3 separate regions of the Homo sapiens genome follow, and all the other regions are linked to region 3. Evidence: promoter capture Hi-C in 16 types of primary human blood cells and fetal thymus (Javierre and others, 2016). All regions are on one chromosome and are shown on one strand. The core of a region is centred on a gene start or on the middle of the fragment in contact, and the rest is flanking DNA. Distances in the headings are between cores, read along the strand shown.

Region 1 (2,700 bases), core at 72-2,571, 870 kb after region 3:
AGGCGCCTGCCACCACGCCTGGCTAATTTTTTGTATTTTTAGTAGAGACGGGGTTTCACCGTGTTAGCCAGGATGGTCTCCATCTCCTGACCTCGTGATCCACCCGCCTTGGCCTCCCAAAGCGCTGGGATTACAGGCGTGAGCCACCGTGCCTGGCCTTTTTTTTTTTTTTTTGAGACAGTCTCGCTCTATCACCTAGGCTGGACTGCAGTGGCGTGATCTCTGCTCACTGCAACCTCTGCCTCCTGGGTTCAAGTGATTCTCCTGCCTCAGCCTCCCAAGTAGCTGAGAGTACAGGTGCCCGCCACCACACCCAGCTAATTTTTGTATTTTTAGTAGAGCTGGGGTTTCACCATGTTGGCCAGGATAGTCTTGATCTCTTGACCTCATGATCCGCCTGCCTCGGCCTCCCAAAGTGCTGGGATTACAGGCGTGAGCCACTGTGCCCAGCCCCCCCCCCTTTTTTTTTTAAGCATTTTCTCAGCAGACTAGCTAAGGACAATAGATGGCATGTCCTGACACCCATGGGGCACTCTGGGTGTTGGGGCAGAAACTTGAGAGGGAATGAGCTTCTGCATTGGTCCCTTTCCTGCTGAAGGTGTCTCCCAGTAGTGTCCATCCCATCCCATTTCCATCCCCAGTTCCTCTTACCCGGAAGCTGTTACAGCCCAGTCCGCTCTGGGCTCCAATCCTGTCCATCCTGCCCCCGAAGCAGCTGGATCTCCGCAGGCTCCGAGGGGCAGTGAGCAGCGCCCTCAGCTTGCTTTTTAGGAGGGCAGATCGATCAGAGGAGTCCCAGGGGCCCCGCCCGAGGGCACCTCCATCTCTCTGGGCTGGGCTGACTTCCCCGGTCCAGGGAGGCACCTCAGGGAGGGGGCTGAGAGCAGCCCCCGCTTCTTCATTCGGCTCACTGAGCACTTGTGGGGGCACGACCTCATCTTCTAAAGGCATCTTTTCTTCCAAATGGTCCAGCAAATTCTTTAGAAAAGGAAAATACAGGGAAAGGGATAAACCTCACTGACTTGGAGGAAATCAAGAGGAGTGAGCACAGCATCAGAAAGCCCCCTGGCCCCAGACTGCACCCGCTTTCCTGGCCCTACCTTGAAATCCATCAGGTCTGCGTTGGACACGGCATTGTACATGGGATTAGCTCTGGTCTGACCTAGGAGCTGGAATGCCAGTAAAAGGAGGAAGCTCACGGTGGTGGTGGAGAAGGAGCTCATGCTGGCGTCGTCAAGGAGCAATCCACTGCTTGCTGCTCTGTCTCTCCCCTCTGGTTCCTCTCTGGTTCCCCTCTCTTGGCCTACGTCTGTCCCTGTCTCCCAGCTGCCCAGTGCCGCCTCTTTTTATAGCCCCCCAGCTCTCCAAGCACGCAGGAGAGACAGAACCCTCCCCATTCTGTCACTTGCAGTGATAAAGCTGCCAAGTGAGAAGCCAGCAGGAGATGCCCTTTTAAAGTTATCATCCCGCAGGGCTTGTCACAGCCCCTCTCTGCCTTGGGCAGCCCCAACAGCCCCCCAGACCCTCAGCTGCAAGAGCCGCATTCTTACTGATTTGACTCAAGAGGCTCCCACTTCAAAGGTGTGAGAAGAGTAAAAAAGAGTCCTTGGTTATCTCACCGCCGTGCCTCAGGATTCTTTCTCCTCGACGCTGGTACCCGTGCGGGGAAACAGAGGGTGACGCTTGGCTGGTGCCCAGCTCCCCTGGTTTGTTTGTGGCTCAGCTGTCAGGGCCTCCAAATAAGGGTGGAGAGGAGGAAATGGCAGGCAGCCAGCAGCCCGAGACAAATGGATCCAGATGCTCAAGCTGGCCTCACACCTGCCTCATCCGCCACGTGGGCAGACCTCTGGCCTCAGACAGGGCTGCCTTCACCCCTGGCAGTCCCTCTCCATGGTCAGGCGAAAGGAAGTTATTTTTTAGTATATAAAGTCAGCTGAGAACCAAATGTGATGAAGCTCCCAGGAATCCAACCCCCAAATAGAAATAGCAAGAAAAGGCGGGGGAGCACAAGCATCCTCTCTCCAAAGCTCCTCCTCTTCCATGTCCCCCGCGACCCTCCTCCAGCATGCTGCGGGGACAGGCTTAGAGGACGCAGCCAATTTCATTTCTTCCGTTGCTGTTTATAGATGCTCAGACTCTTCGTGTCTGAAGTTTGTTAACATCCCCCTGCCCTTCCTGGGCTTGTGCCCGTGGCAACTTGACCGATGGAGGAAGGGAGGTGGGGGTGAAGGAGGTATAGTCAGTTTCCCTCAATGCCTTCTACATCCTTCCCTGAGGACGTGGCAAGTGGCAAGTGACCGAGCCACCAAGGTCACAATTTCCCTGGCCCCCAAAAGGGAAATAACAGGCAGCAAGTCTGTCTATGTTTAATGAATGGCCTGTTTGCTAAGCACTGAACTCAGTGTTAGCCATTACCATTCAATGCAACGTATACTGGGGGAAAACTCTAAATTTGAAGGGCTGAGAGACCAGTACTGTAGCCCAAAACAAACCAGTTGCATACCTCTTCGCAGCCTTACTTTCCTTGTGTGTAAAATGAGAAAGAATGTTAAAAACCGGCCGGGTGCAGTGGCTCACACGTATAATCCCAGCACTTTGGGAGGCTAAGGTGGGTGGATCACCTGAGGCCAGGAGTTTGAGACCAGCCCTACCAACATGGCAAAACTCTGTCTCTACTAAAAATATAAAAATTAGCTGGGT
Region 2 (2,700 bases), core at 84-2,583, 640 kb after region 3:
GGACTAAAGCAGACTCAGAAGGTCCAAGCTACAAACCCACTGGACAGGTGGGAGGACAGATGCCCCAAAGAGGATGACCTGACTTGCCCAAGGCCACACCCTGCTCCCCTCCCCACTAGACTTAAGCAGCCTGCCCCACAGCCTCCGGTCCCCATCCCAAGCCAGCACGCACATCTCTTCCCCAAATCTCATCCCCAACAACAGCATGGAGTGAGACCTCCTGCCAGTGTCCCAGGAAGAGCTCTCAGCTCCGAGATGCTCTGCCAGCTGGCAGGGCCAGGTCCCCATAGAGGCCACCTGCTACGTGAGAACACAGGGCAGTCACCACCAGGAGGCTCTTGGGCCAGTCTGGCTCAGCAGCTACTGTCTCTTGCCAACTGTATGCAGGACACACCCTGTTAGCTTTAGGCTAGCAGAGCCAACAAGCCCAGATGCCTCAAAGAGCCAGTTCGTTCATTGTCCCTTTCAAGGGACCAGATTTCTTAGGCCGTAGTTCCCAAGCACCAGGTTGTGAACCAGCTACAACGGAATCACTCCTCAAAAATAATAGCTTCCAGGGTCCTGCTCCGAAGAGAGTGTGATCCAACTGGTCCTGGGGAGGGTCTAGGAATCTGTATTTTAACAGCCCTGTTCCCACCCACATCATCCTGGCAAGCAGGCTTCGGAACCTCTCTTTGCTCAGAGCAAGCACTTCACTCACAGAGGGTCAAACTTGGAGGCAGTTTAAAGACCTTCTAGTCTAGCCCACCCATTGTCCAGACAGGAACACTGAGGCTTAGGGGGCTTGTCCTGGGTCACAGAGTGACTCAGTGACAGTGCTATGACCCAAACCCCAGTGTCCCAACTCCTAGACCAGGAAGCTTGCCCTTCTGTTAAGACATTTTGGGAAGATGGCAAGAAAGTCCTTCCAGCTCAGGGCAGGAAGTCGTCCTTGGCACAGAGCAAGACCTTTGTGGAAAATTGGTGGATAGGAATGAAGAACATTGAATTGGGGGCAGATACTGCCTGTTTCTGCCTGTCTCTCCCCCATTCCATGAGGTCCTGGTAGGGCTTAGTCACAATGCTCTACAAAACATAGTCACGGGAACACACACACACTCATGCACATACAGACACACACAGACATACACACACACACACTTCGTGGGTGTGAGATCAGGCCAGGCTGCCCAGAATTCTAATCCCCCTGATCACACTGATTGGCTCAAGAATGAACACCATGGGTTGGGTGTGGTGGCTCACGCCTGTAATCCCAGAACTTTGGGAGGCCGAGACAGATGGATCATCTGAGGTCGGAAGTTTGAGACCAGCCTGGCCAATATGGTGAAACCCCGTCTCTACTAAAAATACAAAAATTAGCTTGGCATGGTAGCACGTGGCTGTAATCCCAGCTGCTCAGGAGGCTGAGGCAGGAGAATCGCTTGAACCCGGGGAGGCGGAGGTTGCAGTGAGCTAAGATCATACCACTGCAATCCACCCTGGGCGACAGAGCAAGACTCTGTTTCAAAAAAAAAAAAAAAAACACCTGACCCAAGAAGATCAATCAGAGATTTGACACCTGAACCCAGCAAGGAAGATCTCTCTTCCTTTTGGGTAATGAGTTATAGGGGTTCGGGGCTACCATTGGCCTTCTTCCCTAACACGTGGAGAAAGGCTTTGTGAGAACACCTGAAGGGACGCAGACTCCAGATACGCAAAACAGATGATGTCCTGACAATAGCATTTGGGCTCCTGGATCTAGCCTTTCCTGAAACTGGGAAACCCTGAGCACCCAGTTATGTGAGCCAATAAACTCACTTTTTGACTTAAGCTTGTTTAAGGTGGGGTTTTTGTCACTTGCAACCAAAACAGTGCTGACTAGGGTCCTGGGACACACCTGTTTGGGGGCAGAAAGTGGGAAGCAGAACATTTCATTGCCCTCAGCCCCTGTGACGGTCTAGGGAGGCCCTTGTCCATAAGGAAGGCATGGGATCTCGGGAGAAGCCACCTGAAGATCACAGGGGCATGTCCTGGACCGAGAGTCAAAACACCTGGGCTCTTTCACTCCCAAGCTGCGTGACCTTCGACCAGTCAACCAACCCCTCCTTTATCAAGCATGCCTTTTATTTTCTGTGTTCTGATACTTTGACATCTGGGGCTTTGTGACCCTGGAGGGTTAAGAGCTGGTAAATTCTTAGAGATAGTAACCAACTTGCCCATGAGCCCATTTGCTTTGAAAATGCAAACCAACCAATCCAGAGTCTATACCAGCAACTACCTCCTTTATTGGCTCTCACACTTTGGACCACTATCCACCTGCCCTGATCACTCCAGGGTCATCTACCAGACAACTAGGGGCAGCCCTTGTGGCCCAGAATGCACTGAAATTATTCAAACTAGCCAACCCTAAGCCGGCTTGCTCTGCCTCATTCGTTCCTTCTCATGGATACCACAATAAATGTTCTTGCCCACGATTTCCCCCTCCCTCTACCTCCTGACTGCCCCTATGTGCCCCCTCATGGCTGGACAAGCCCGCTCCTCTTGGGATCTGTGAGTGTAATAATCTGTCTTTTTTTTTTTTTTTTTTTTTTTGAGGCGGAGTTTTGCTCCTGTCACCCAGGCTGGAGTGCAATGGCGCAATCTCGGCTCACTGCAACCTCCGCCTCCCAGGTTCAAGCGATTCTCCTGCCCCAGCCTCCCAAGTAGCTGGGATTACAGGAG
Region 3 (2,700 bases), core at 122-2,621:
CGTCTGATGCCTGCTCCTGTTCTCCTCCTTGAGCATCAATCGGGAGAAAGATGTGGGTTTGGGTTTTTCCCCCTCACTTCTCAGACCCAGAACTGCCCCATCCCAGTCTGGGGGGAGACATGATGCTCCATCCCCCAAAGCTGAGCCCCCTCATGGGGCATCCAGGAGAAGGCAATGGGTCCCCAGGACAGGGCCCGGACCTCCCCCTTGCTCGCCCAGCCCCACAAAGCCCCACTCAGCTTCTCCACTGCCTTCATTGTCTACAGACTTCAACCTCACAAAACGCCCAACAAAAGCCCTGCAGTCCACGGCCCAAAGGCCACAAGCCAGCTATTGTGACATTCCAGCTGGCCTGGGAGGCTTCACTTCCCACTCTCAGGAGCTTTTTAAAGTATCTCTTAAAAATGCATCTCAGATGGGGAAAAGAGGTAGCAATTCTGTTGCCAAGGAAAATGAGATTTTGGCCAAGTGCAGTGAGTCATGCCCGTAATCCCAATACTTTGGGAGGCCGAGACAGGAGGATGGCTTGAACCCAGGAGTTTAAGACCAGCCTGGGCAACACAGTAAGACCCTGTCTCTACAAAAAAATTAAAAAATTACCAAAGTGTGGTGGCACATGCCTATGGTCCCAGCTACTCAGGAGGCTAAAGTGGGATGATCACTTGAGCCCAGGAGTTAAGAGATGACAGTGAACTATGATCTTGCCACTGCACTCCAGCCTGGGCAACAGAGCAAGACTCTATCTCAGGAAGAAGGAGAGACAGAGAGGGAGAGAGAGAGAGAAAGAGAAAAGAAAGGAAAGGGAAGGAAGGAAGGAGAAAGGAAGGAAGGCAGGGAGGGAAGGAAGGAAGGGAGGGAAGGAAGGAAAATGAAATTTTCTCCTAATCCTTACAATCGAATAGCTAGCGACCACAACTCCTATCATTTGAAAACTCCTTGAAATCAAGCATCTCTTGGTCAACTTGACCCCTAATTTGTTTTGTTTTAAGGACCCTCTAGGACAAGGAAGACGTGTTCTGTTTTCTCCCAATCTTCTGGAAATCCTTCCCAAGATGGGAGGACTGGAATTCCAGAACAAGGGATGACAGGAGCATGAGAAAGGTGGGAGAGACTGTGGCCGGACCTCACCTGAGAAAGTCAGCCCTTCCCAAGGCATCCATGCATCTGGGCCCCTCACCCATTTGGCCCCCTTCCCTCTTAGATGCAAGGCTTCTGATTCTGATGGAAGATATTTGGCTTCTTCAAGGAGTGTGGGCACACTAAGCATGCCACTGGCTTCTCCCAATTCCTGAATAAGGGACACTTACCAGGCAAGTGCTGGGGACCCCCACATCCTCAGGCCCAGCAGCTCTCTCCTGCCCTGGGAGAATTTAATCTGAAGCAGTTCCAAGCAACTAAACGAAAGGTTGGCTCCTCCCCTTCCCCTCCAGTGCAGGTCTCGGGTCACTCAGGTGCCAGAAAACACAGGTGGGTGTCAACACTCTCAGCTTCTCCCCATCCCTCTGCATGGGTGAGATGAATTGCTTCAGCCGTGGGAGCTCAAAATAAGATTGCGGATCAGAAGGCTGAAGATGAATTGATCCACTGAGGCTGGAGTGCAGGCCCTCATTCTCCGCTCCCGGGAGAAGCCTGTCTCTGTGCCCAAGGAAGGAAAGAAGCTAAGAAACTGAGCTTCACCGGAGGAACAGTCACGCTGTCTTGATGGGGCTTCCCAGAACCCTGCTCCAGGCCCCTCCTGGCAGAGTTCAAAAGGAGCTGAGGGGCCAGGCATGGTGGCTCATGCCTGTAACCCCAGCATTTTGGGATGCAGAGATGGGCAGATTGTTTGAGGTCAGGAGTTCGAAACAAGCCAGGGGAACATGGCAAGACCCTGTCTCTACAAAAAATTTAAAAACTAGCTGGGCATGGTGGCACACACCTGTGGTCCTAGCTACTCAGGAGGCTGAGGTGAGAGGATTGCTTGAGCCCAGGAGGTTGAGGCTGCAGTGAGCCCTGATTGTGCTACTGCACTCCAGCCTGGGCAACAGAACAAGACCCTGTCTAAAAAAAAAAAAAAAAGGGGCCGGGCACAGTCACTCATGCCCATAATCCCAGTGATTTGGGAGGGCGAGGCAGGCTGATCACCTGATGTCAGGACTTCGAGACCAGCCTGGCCAACATGGTGAAACCTTATCTCTACTAAAAATACAAAACTAGCCAGGTGTGGGGGTGCACGCCTGTAATCCCAGCTACTTGGGAAGTTAAGGCAGGAGAATTGCTTGAACCCGGGAGATGGAGGTTGCAGTGAGCCAAGATCGTACCATTGTACTGCAGCCTGGGTGACAAGAGCAAAACTCCGTCTAAAAAAAAAAAAAAAAAAAAAAAAAAAAAAAAAAAAAAAAAAAAAGACCAGGCGCAGTGACTCACGCCTGTAATCCTAGCACTTTGGGAGGCTGAGGTGGGTGGATCATCAGGTCAGGAGTTTGAGACCAGCCTGGCCAACATGGTGAAACCCTGTCTCTACCAAAAATACAAAAAATAGCCGGGCTTGGTGGTGGGCACCTGTAATCCCAGCTACTCTGGAGGCTGAGGCAGGAGAATCGCTTGAACCTGGAAGGCAGAGATTGCAGACAGCTGAGATCGTGCCATTGCACTCCAGCCTGGGCGATACAATAAGACTCCGTCTCAAAAAAAAAAAAAAAAAGGAAGAGGAGATTAGGG

Evidence for each region. Contacts are between HindIII fragments. The CHiCAGO score rates a contact against its expected background, and 5 or more counts as called.
Region 1: a contact is called between the fragment with the promoter of NPPA here and the fragment with the promoter of CIROZ in region 3, in 4 of 17 cell types (naive B cells, non-activated CD4 T cells, total B cells and 1 more). The highest score is 8.2, in naive B cells.
Region 2: a fragment that was not itself captured here is called in contact with the fragment with the promoter of CIROZ in region 3 in 2 of 17 cell types (M2 macrophages and endothelial precursors); the score reaches 5.1 in M2 macrophages.

What each region holds. Positions count from the first base shown.
Region 1 is chr1:11,846,462-11,849,161 of GRCh38, forward strand. It overlaps NPPA (natriuretic peptide A), which reads right to left and starts at 1,322. Exons shown (of 3, transcript NM_006172.4): 1 at 1,101-1,322; 2 at 652-978. The coding sequence starts at 1,223. It also overlaps NPPA-AS1. RefSeq lists an enhancer at 358-2,148. The HindIII fragment of the contact is 12,440 bases long and covers 1-2,700 here.
Region 2 is chr1:11,617,169-11,619,868 of GRCh38, forward strand. No RefSeq gene overlaps it. Among named protein-coding and RNA genes, the nearest start is that of LINC01647, 9.0 kb to the left of the region's middle. The HindIII fragment of the contact is 950 bases long and covers 859-1,808 here.
Region 3 is chr1:10,980,705-10,983,404 of GRCh38, forward strand. CIROZ (ciliated left-right organizer protein containing ZP-N domains) reads right to left here and starts at 1,372. Exons shown (of 13, transcript NM_001170754.2): 1 at 1,308-1,372. The coding sequence starts at 1,333. The HindIII fragment of the contact is 7,392 bases long and covers 1-2,700 here.